Regions from separate parts of the Homo sapiens genome. Here region 1 is linked to region 2. The links are contacts of gene promoters, found by promoter capture Hi-C in human tissues and cell types (Jung and others, 2019). All regions are on one chromosome and are shown on one strand. Each heading gives the region's core, a stretch centred on a gene start or on the middle of the fragment in contact. The rest is flanking DNA. Distances are from core to core; before and after follow the strand shown. Region 1 overlaps LOC105372112 (a long non-coding RNA gene). Region 2 holds the start of C18orf32 (chromosome 18 open reading frame 32).

Region 1 (4,939 bases), core at 1,177-3,676, 250 kb after region 2:
TGGCATTTGTGTTTATATACCTAAGGATTTCTATATGGAGAATAAGAAAGTATTACGTCTACTTTGTCGGGCTCAGAAAACTGAGATAGGACCAGATATGGGGAGACTTCATTAGACCCTTGATATGACCCTGGCTGAGCTGCTCAGCCTCCCTCCTGCATTCCTGCCCACCCAGCCCTGCAGCCCCTGATGCCTGGGCATTACTAAACTGTTTGCTATTCTTGGAACACATTAACCCTCTCCTCCTCCATGTCTCTGCAATGCTGCTCTCTCTCCCAGGAAGGCCTCCATTTTTTCTTTTTCCTTTTTTTTTTTTAAACAGGATCTTGCTCTGTTGCCTAGGTTGGAGTGCAGTAGTGTTATGATGGCTCACCACAGCCTCGACCTCCCAGGCTCAGGTGATCCTCCTCCCACCTCAGCCTCCCAAGTATCTGGGACTACAGGTGCACACCACCATGCCCAGCTAATTTTTTGTATGTTTTTGTAGAGATGGGGTTTCACCATGTTGCTCAGGCTGGTCTCAAACACCTGAGCTCAAGCGATCCACCCACCTCAGCCTCCCAAAGTGCTGGCATCACAGGCATGAGCCACCACACCCTGCCAGGCCTCCTCCTTGTCACCGTCACCGTGACTTCTTGTTCTCACACTTCACATAGAGGGCTACTTCTTCTGGAACCTTTTGCTCCTTCCTGGGAGACCTATGTATTCCTCCTCTTATGTTCTCACAATCCTTCATACAGTCTGTGGAGGAAAGGGGGAAGAGGGGACCTAATGACAAGAAAGTGTAAAATTGAGAAAATAGGAGGCTCTGCAGGGCCAAGCCCAGGGACACTCTGTCAGACCGAATAGTCCATTCCCCTCCCATCAGTCAACAGTGCTCAGCACTTTGCCCATTGAGGGTTCTGTTTAGAATGACATCATTTGTCCCTAGAGATGCTATCAAGGCCCTTCTGGAAGGGCCTAGCCCAAGTGGACAACCCCTGCTCAACCACCCAAACCACTCATAAGCTACCTGCTACCCCAACATCACAGTCATTATTTGATTGTGTTGTTATTGGCGGCACAGATGTCTCCTCTCTGAATTGTAAGTTCCTTGGGGCTAACTTATAGCTTATAGAGTTATTCAGCAGGCATTCAATAAATAGATGTTGAATGAGTCAGTGAGTTAGTGTGGAGAAGGAATACATTAACCCTTCCCATGGATGGAGAATGGTGATCAAAGAAGAAATTAATAATAACCAAAAACCTGGGCTCTTATCAATGTAACTATGGGCAGGTGCTCTGACCTTTGGAAGCCTTTTCTTTCTGAGGATGAGGATGGTGGGCCCTTGAGCTCAGGCTGCAAAATGTTGACCCTAAGAGCACCGACCTTTCTTACAATGGCAGGTTTTTCCAAGTGCAATCTGCTGCCTCCAGAAATGCTCTCTTAGACTGGTAACTTCCTGTTGGAACCCTGCATGGGGTGGAGAACCAGGTTCCCCTCCCCGCATCCCCTTTGTAACGCAAAGGTTTTTCTTGTCGACTTGCCCACAGTCTCACCACTGGTTAAGATGGAGTTGAACATCCCAACAAGTTCTCTTTCTACAAGACCATGTTGCCCCATCACAATACCTGAAAATCTGCAACCATTTGAAATATGCCAAGAGTACTCCACAGACTCCACTTTGCAGTCACCAGCCAAAATGCCAAGCATAGCTAGAGGAGATAAAGGGATGTCAATCAATCTTGTTGAAGATGTAAAACCAGGAAAGGGACTGGAGGCACTTCATGACACCCATTTTGGGTCAGAAGAAGAAGTGAGAGAGAAACTGGGAAATGGAAATAAAGGAAAGGGAGAGTTTGAAAGAGCTTATTATTAGAAACCAGACGGGTGAACTCTGGGGTCAGTTTCCTTCCCAGTAGCTTTTCTTGAGCCCTTCCCAGTGACAAGGTGTGGTTTTTGGCGAGGAGGCTTTCTTGGCTGTGGCACGAAAAGAAGGGATGCTGGGCTAGCAGTTTTCTGGGTCTTGGGGTTTCAAAGTCGAGAGGGCAGAAGGTTATCCTTTTGAGCTTGTGGTCGTGCACAGCTGACATCTGATGAATTGAAGCATCCAAGAGGCTTACCCTTCACCCCATGGTTGAGCCCAGAGCTATTCTCAAGAATGAGAGGAACCAGAGAAGACTTCAGTGTCAGCTGTCCAGGCCAAAGAGTTAGGAGTTTAGTTTTCTTGGTTCTGTCACTCCAAGACATTCTGGCTACAGCAACATTGTTGAAGGTGTGTCTCTGAGGTTACATATTAGAGCATCATGTGGAAAATTTAAACATATTTCTTTAAGATTTCATGAAGCAGACACTGATAATTGGCTACCCCTAAAGGCTCTCTCAACCCCAATCTCCCTTGCCATTTCTCACCATCAATGCAAGAATTGTTAAATATTTACTCCCATAGTCTTCCTCGCAGATAGGAACATGAGTCTTCCATGCAGATAGCCACATGATCCTGTTCTAACCATGAGATAGAAGCAGAAGTTGAAAGTTTTTAGAAACCTTATGCTTTCATGATGAATGAAACTGAGAGGACCAACTTGGGATTTTTCCTTCCTCCTCCCGTGTGCTATAAATACAAACATGATGGCCAGAACAGAGGCAGCCCTCGTGGTAACTATGAGGGAAAGCCAAGAAAATCACAGTGACATCTGTCCGAACATGACTGACCCATTGAATCCAGGCCAGCAACTTTCTCTCTCAGAGCTTCTTGTCTTTTTTAAAAAACTCAACATTTGAAGGTATTATCATTAAGTTTTCTGGCTTTTTTTTTTTTTTTTTGCTGCTGAGCGCAATCATAATTGATACCCAGAAAGTCTCAGTACCTTTAATATGCTAATGTGTATTTTGAATCTCCAAGAGGTGAAGAGAACATGCACCAATTCCAAACTTGTATGACTCAGATACCATTTTAAAAAAAATAATTGTTATGGGATTAGTGTTTCAGGTACACCCCTTGGGAAACTCTGCGTTAGGGGATCACAAGCCTGGTGTGATGGATGGACACTATTGGGGGGCGCCCATGTTCATGCCCTGGATAATCCCTTCCTTTGGAGTGTAAGACCTGTCACTTGCTTCTAACCATTAGAATATGGCAAAGTAGATGGGATGCCACCCCCACGATTATGTCACAAGATACAGAGAGGGAAAGAGAACAAGATATACATACGTAATACATATAGGTAGTTCCATCTTGCTAGCATGTGCTAGACAGAATCTCCTACTGGTCTTGAAGCAGTAAATTGCACCGCTGTAAACTGCCTATGGAGAGGGCCACACAGCCAGAAACTGTGTGCCCTTTAGGAGCTGAGGGCTTCAGTCATACAGCTGCAAGAACTGAATTCTACCAACAACCACAGGAGCTTCGAAGGGACCACAACTTCAGGTGAAACCACCACAGCACCGACCAACAGGGCAATTGAATTGCAGCCCCATGAGATCCTGAGCAGAATTAAGCTGTACTCAGAGTTCTGATCCATGGAAGCTAGGAGATAATCAATGTGTGTGTTGTTTTAAACACTAAGTTTGTGGTCATTGTTACACAGCAATAGAAAACTAGTATACCCAGGAAAGGGCCGGCTCTCAATGCAATGCTGTGGCTTGTAGGTCAGCTGTTATACGGGGTTTGGGACTGATGAAGTTCAGCCTTTCTCCTATAGTTCATCTGCTTTCCTTCTAGCACATTGTCCTCAAACACAGCTGCCCTAACCTAGCAAACTCTTTCACATCGAAAACCCTCAATAAATGAAACAGCTCCAAATACAGGCCATTCTGCCATGAGTTTTGTCACCTCCTGTTGGTCTTTGAGTCTTTAGAAATACGAAGTTGCCTTGTACAGAGGGTTCATTCCATGTTCCAGCTACTTGGAGAGAAATTGTCTTCCCTGGGGGGCTTGGACATTATTCTTGGAGACTATTTTGCCCCTCAGATTAGAGAAGCTGGTTTCCTGGTATTTTGGTTATTTATCATTCTTTCCTGTTCTCATTTGAGATTCAAAATATATGCCTTCCTGCGAAACTTCCAGAAGAGGAATTGATGGGTGAGAGTAGCAAAGAGGCTTTGTGGGGTCCTTTTCACAGGGGTATTTCCAAACTTTTTCTAGTAAAAAAATAAAAAGAGTCCATTTACCTGAGTTTTTAATATTTTGTCTTTTGCTCCAAATATTAAAGTCTGTGGCTTCAGACATCTATTTAGCAGATGCGTGTTTGCTACTTACTCGGTTATTCCTTTCATTAACTTTTTCTAGACTCCCGTTTCACCTGAGGCACAGAAGCTTTCCTTTGTTCACCGTTGCCAGCAGTTATTGGACTGTGGCTGGGATTACCTGTCAGAATTCACAGGTGAGCTCCACTCTGCACAGGGCCATGAGACCCTCCTGCCCAATCCACCCCGGATCCCCTCCATCTGTTCACACTCATCTGTCTTCTTTTCTATCAAGTCACAGACGGAAGATTTGTCTACAAAGAAATTTAAAACTGCAGCATAGTGTTTTTTTTAAAAACAAACAAAACAAGACTATCATTAAAATCAGAGTGGAGAGACCAGCCACAAAGATTTTGCAAAATTCTACAAAAAGAAAAAAAAAAGACAAAGGGTTAATATTCCTGTTATAAAATGTGCACTTACTTTTCAGTAAGAACTAAATGGTCACATTGAAAAATGGGGAGGACATGACTGTGTAAATCTGAGAGAAGAAATATAATTGCCCAAGAACTATGAAAAGATAATGATATTCCAACTTACATTAATCAGCGAAATGCACATTTTATTTAAATTTAAATTTTACATTGTATTGGAACAGTTTTAGATTGGCAAAGAATAAACAGAGTGATAAAACCAAGTGTAGGAAAGGTTTAGAAAATATGAGCGATTTCACATCCTGCTGTTAGGACTGTAAATGGATACAACACATTA
Region 2 (5,014 bases), core at 2,276-4,775:
AGAGCAGAACTGGAATGACGATACAAGGAATGCACACCATTTTCCCAAGCTTGAGCTCCTCAACTGTTGATATATGTGAAGAAAAAAATTAGTTCATCACAGATTAGTAACTGAAAGAATTTACCAAGATTAAGATATCTGAAAGGGGATAGATGTGGTGGCTCACGCCTGTAATCCCAGCACTTTGGGAGGCAAGAGGATAGCTTGAGCCCAGGAGTTTGAAACCAACTTGCACAACAAAGTGAGACCTTGTCTCTACAAGATCAAAAAATTAGCTGGGCATGGTGGCATACTCCTGTGGTCCCAGCTACATAAGTGGCTGGGACAAGAGGATCACTAGAGCCCAGGAGGTTGAGGCTGCAGTGAGCCGTGTTCATGCCACTGCTCTCCAGCCTGGATGACACAGAGACACTTTGTCTCAAAAAAAGAAAAAAAAAAAATATATATATATATATATATACACACACACACACACACACACACACACACACACGAAAGGACTATTTCTACAGTGTAGGAAAAACTTAAAACATACTATTATATTTGCTAAAAAAAAAAGACTTTATTAAATAAAAAGCTGCTATCTACAAGGTAAAGAAATAGGCCAGGTGCAGTGGCTCATGGCTGTAATCCCAGCACTTTGGGAGGCCAAGGCGGGTGGATCATGAGGTGAGGAGTTCGAGACCAGCCTGGCCAACATGGTGAAACCCTGTCTCTACTAAAAATACAAAAATCAGCGGGGTGTTGTGGCATGCGCCTGTAATCCCAGCTACTCGGAAGGCTGAGGCAGAATTGCTTGAACCCAGGAGGCAGAGGCTGCAGTGAGCCGAGATCCCACCACTGCACTCCAGCCTAGGTGACAGAGCAAGACTCCATCTCAAAATAAAGAAATAATAGGTGGTAGGCATGAATAATAATGAGGTGCCTGCTTCCAAACTTCCAGTCACTGCTCCTTAATCATGAATTTGATTATAAAGGAAAAACAACAACATTTGGTAGGTGCTAGACAGTTTACATATAACAACTCATTTAATCCTCAATCAGTGAGGTTGGGTACCCTTGCTACTATGTCTATTTAGAGTTTAAAAAATGAGCCGGGTGTGGTGGCTCACACCTGTAATCCCAGCACTTTGGGAGGCCAAGGCGGGCAGATCACCTGAGGTCAGGAGTTCGAGACCAGCCTAACCAACATGGTGAAACCCCGTCTCTACTAAAAACACAAAATTAGCCAGCCATGGTGGAGCAGGCCTGTAATCCCAGCTACTCGGGAGGCTGAGGGGGAAGAATTGCTTGAACCCGGGAGGTAGAGGTTGCGGTGAGCCAAGATCATGCCACTGCATTCCAGCCTGGGTGACAGAGCAAAACTCCGTCTCAAAAAAAAGATTTCTTATTTTCAAAATACTGCAAATTAAGTAGCATCTGCTGGCAACTGAGTCAGCACCATCACTATGCTTAGACATTTAAAAATTATTCACAATACAGGTAAACGGTGGCATAGAGAATCAAATCTGAATGTCTTTGAAATGAATTACAAGCAAGAGCTATAAACAAAAATGTAAATTGAGGCTGGGCGCGGTGGCTCACGCCTGTAATCCAAGCACCTTGGGAGGCCGAGGGGGTGGATCATCTTAGGTAAGGAGTTCGAAACCAGCCTGGCCAACATGGCAAAACCCTGTCTCTACTAAAAATACAAAAATTAGCTGGGCGTGGTGGTGGGCACCTGTAATCCCAGCTACTGGGGAGGCTGAGGCAGGAGAATTGCTTGAACCTGGGAGGCGGAAGTCGCAGTGAGCTGAGATTGCGCCATTGCACTCCAGCCTGCGTGACAAGAGCAAAACTCCGTGTCAGAAAAAAAAAAAATAAAAATAAAATAAAATAAAATCAATTGCTGGGGCAATAGTGATTTTTTTTTTTTTGAGACAGGGTCTTGCTCTGTTGCTCAGGCTAAAGTGCAGTGGCTCAAACATACCACCTGTGTTCAGAGTTCACTGCAGCCTTGACTTCCCAGAATCAAGCTATCCCCCTTCCTCAGCCTCCTGAGTAGGTAGGACCACAGCCCTGCGCCACGATGCCCGACAGATTTTTTAATTCTTAGTAGAGATGAGGTCTCACTGTGTTGCCCATGCTGATCTTAAAGTCCTAAGCTCAAATGATCCTCCCGCCTAGGCCTCCCAAAGTGCTGGGATTACTGGAACCTGGCCTAATTTTTTTTTTTAAATAATTAGCAAGGTGTGATGGCACGCGCCTGTAGTCCCAGGTATTTGGGGAGCTGAGGAAGGAGAGAACCGCTTGCGCCCAGGAAAGCCGAAACTGCCGTGAGCTATGATGGCCCACTGGACTCCAGCCTGGGCCACAGAGGCAGACCCTGTCTCAAGATTAAAAAAAAAAAAAAATCCAAAAGTTGTAACCTGTCCAAAGTTCTCACAGAGGTAACTGGTAACTAGAGCTTCTAAGACCATTATTTCCAGTTCTGGTTTTCCTCAATGCTCTTGCCTTTTCCTCTTCCAAAAACACAATGGTCATGTTTTTACCAAACTTTTACCAAACTTTCCAAACCAACGAAACCCCTTCAAAACAACTGACAATGCTACCAGTACTAGTTTAGTGACTGACAGGCCCTCCATCATAAAGATTCATTTTTACTTCTGCAATTGTGTTTTAAGTAAGTTCGCACACAGTACGATGTACATAAACTCTCGAGGACAAATACTACTAATCACTTACGCCACAATTACGGCTTTTAAGAGACTTTTTAGCTCTCTTCGGAATGAAGCCTATTTGTATCTTATCTTTTAATCTTCATAATAATACTTCGGTAAGATATTTTACTTCACACATATGGAAACTGGGTCAGAAAAGTCTAGAAGGTGGCTACGAGATATTATTATTTTAATTATTCGCTCCAAGCCAACAAAGCGAGCAAAACGGATTAAAGCTGTTGCAGAGGAATCTTCTTTCACTCAACTTAAGTCCAGACAACAGAGTAGACAGTTAAAGTCTGAGGCTCCATCCGAAATAGGGAAGGCATAACAGGGAAAGTCACCTTCCTCCAAGTCATCCAGTTGAGCATGTCATCTTAGTGGAGACAGAGGGAGCGGGGACAGGTTGAGTCAATGACAATGATTGAAAAGAGACGAGAACAGAGGCCTAACGGTGAAGGTCATAGAAAGGATGTGAAACCGATACTTGGCCACGGAAAAGAACAAAATCAATATAAAGTATCGGAGAGGCAAATGCAAGCTCCGAGGGCGCCGGTGGTGGACAAAGAATACAGACAGAGGGGAGGGGAGGGCGGGGCGGAGGGCGGAGGAGCGCGCTCGCGGAAGGAAGGTACCCTGAGAGCGAAGGCAGGCACCGCGGAGGCCGGCGGGCCGCGACCGCCGAGGAGGGAGGAGGCAGGAGGCCGCGCACCGCCTAGGACTCTGCGAGCGCGGCCCGGGCTGGGCCTGCGGAGCAGCTACAAAGCCCAACCCAGGCCGCTAGCCCGGGCACACTCACCCGCGACCGCGGAAACGCAGCTGACAATGTCCGCACTTCCGGAGGGAGGGACGATCCGCAGCCGAGCCAATGGGCGCCTTCAACGGGGACGACAAAGGCGCGCTTGCGTCAACCCGGGGTCGCACAGCACGCAGCAGTGTTGCCCAAGGGGCGCGGCGAGGCTTCCGGCTCTGCGGCCTGCAGGTAGCGCGAAAGTCCTGCGCGTCCCAGATGCCCAACTAAAAGCTTCGCTGCGGGAAGAAAGCCTGACCTGACTACACCCAGACCCAGAACGCAGGATCTCGGTAAAGGATGATGCCTGTGCAAACGGCGCGGCACCCACACGGAAGGTGGCAGCTAGGCCGTTGAGGCAACTGTGGATAAGCTATTAGTTTTGCTGGTTTCTTAAATTCAAGGGCAGAGCAAACTAACATTAAGGCCAACTTTACAAACGTCAGTTGCTTAAAAGAAGCAGTTACATCACTTTATAAACGAAAAGTACTGACGCTCGCTAGGATGTCAGTACGTGTTGGCGAAGTTGTGTGAAAACTGGGACCCTCATAAACCGTTGGTGGAAATGTAGCGTGCAGCCTTTTTGGAAATATTTGGAAGTTCCTCAGATGTTTACTCAGGTAACCTTATGATCTAGCAATTCCACTCTAGTATATACTCAATAAATGAAAACACAAAAATCTGCACACAAACGTTCACAGTACCATCGTTCCTAATAGCAAAAACAAAACCCCTTTATCAATTGACGAAATGATACAGGTTGAGCATCAACCTAAAAAGCTTCAAAACCTGAGCCTGAGTGCTGTTATCATACTCAAAGGCAATGCTCAATGGAGCCATTTCCAACTGGGGATGATCAACTGGTATATTCACATACTGGATTGTTCTGCAAAGAAAACCACTGCAAATTCCTTTTGGGATAATGAAACTTTTTTTGAGACAGGGTCTTGTTCTGTCTTGCCCACGCTGGGGTGCAGTAGTGCTCACTGCAGCCTCCCACCTCAGCCCCCCAATTAGCTGGGACTACATGCAAGTGACACCACACTTACTTTTTTTTAACAGACAGGGTTCTGACATGTTGCCCTGGCTGGGCTTAAGCAGTCAGCCTCCACCTCCCAAAGTGCTGGGACTACAGAAATGAGCCACTGTGCCCAGCCATGAAAATGGTTTTTAATGGTGCAGGGTAAACAATCTTGTGTTTCTAGTTCTAATCCTAAAAAATCCTCATTTGATCCATCTTGTAAGGACACTTGAAATATGTTCACTAATAAAGACAACCAACATTCTTTTCCTTTTAATTACATTTATTTTAATGCTGAATTTACTCCCGTGCCATAAGTTTTTGTTTCTTCAGTTTCTTCTGGGATATCTGGGGAAAGAAAAATGTGTTAAGTTTCTTAGAGAAAACCACAGTACATCTTGGAGGACTTCAGCTTATTCTGGAGGCAGGAAACCTAGTCGTTAAGGACTAAGGGGGAAAAATACTTAAATGGTAGAAATCAACAGAACTTAAGTTCATTAGATG

Evidence for each region. Contacts are between HindIII fragments. The study calls those that stand out against the background at their distance.
Region 1: a fragment that was not itself captured here is called in contact with the fragment with the promoter of C18orf32 in region 2 in 1 of the 25 tissues and cell types used here (H1 embryonic stem cells).

Annotation. Positions count from the first base shown.
Region 1 is chr18:49,732,433-49,737,371 of GRCh38, forward strand. LOC105372112 (a long non-coding RNA gene) reads left to right here. Exons shown (of 5, transcript XR_007066363.1): 4 at 4,272-4,365. Among named protein-coding and RNA genes, the nearest start is that of ACAA2, 79 kb to the right of the region's middle. The HindIII fragment of the contact is 5,699 bases long and covers 1-4,939 here.
Region 2 is chr18:49,483,709-49,488,722 of GRCh38, forward strand. C18orf32 (chromosome 18 open reading frame 32) reads right to left here and starts at 3,526. Exons shown (of 3, transcript NM_001035005.4): 1 at 3,335-3,526; 2 at 1-63. The coding sequence starts at 40. RPL17-C18orf32 (RPL17-C18orf32 readthrough) reads right to left here. Exons shown (of 7, transcript NM_001199356.2): 6 at 1-63. RPL17 (ribosomal protein L17) reads right to left here. Exons shown (of 7, transcript NM_001035006.5): 7 at 4,773-4,858. The coding sequence ends at 4,811. MIR1539 (microRNA 1539) reads left to right here and starts at 3,665; the gene lies at 3,665-3,714. RefSeq lists a silencer at 3,255-3,384 and an enhancer at 3,425-3,584. The HindIII fragment of the contact is 6,566 bases long and covers 1-3,996 here.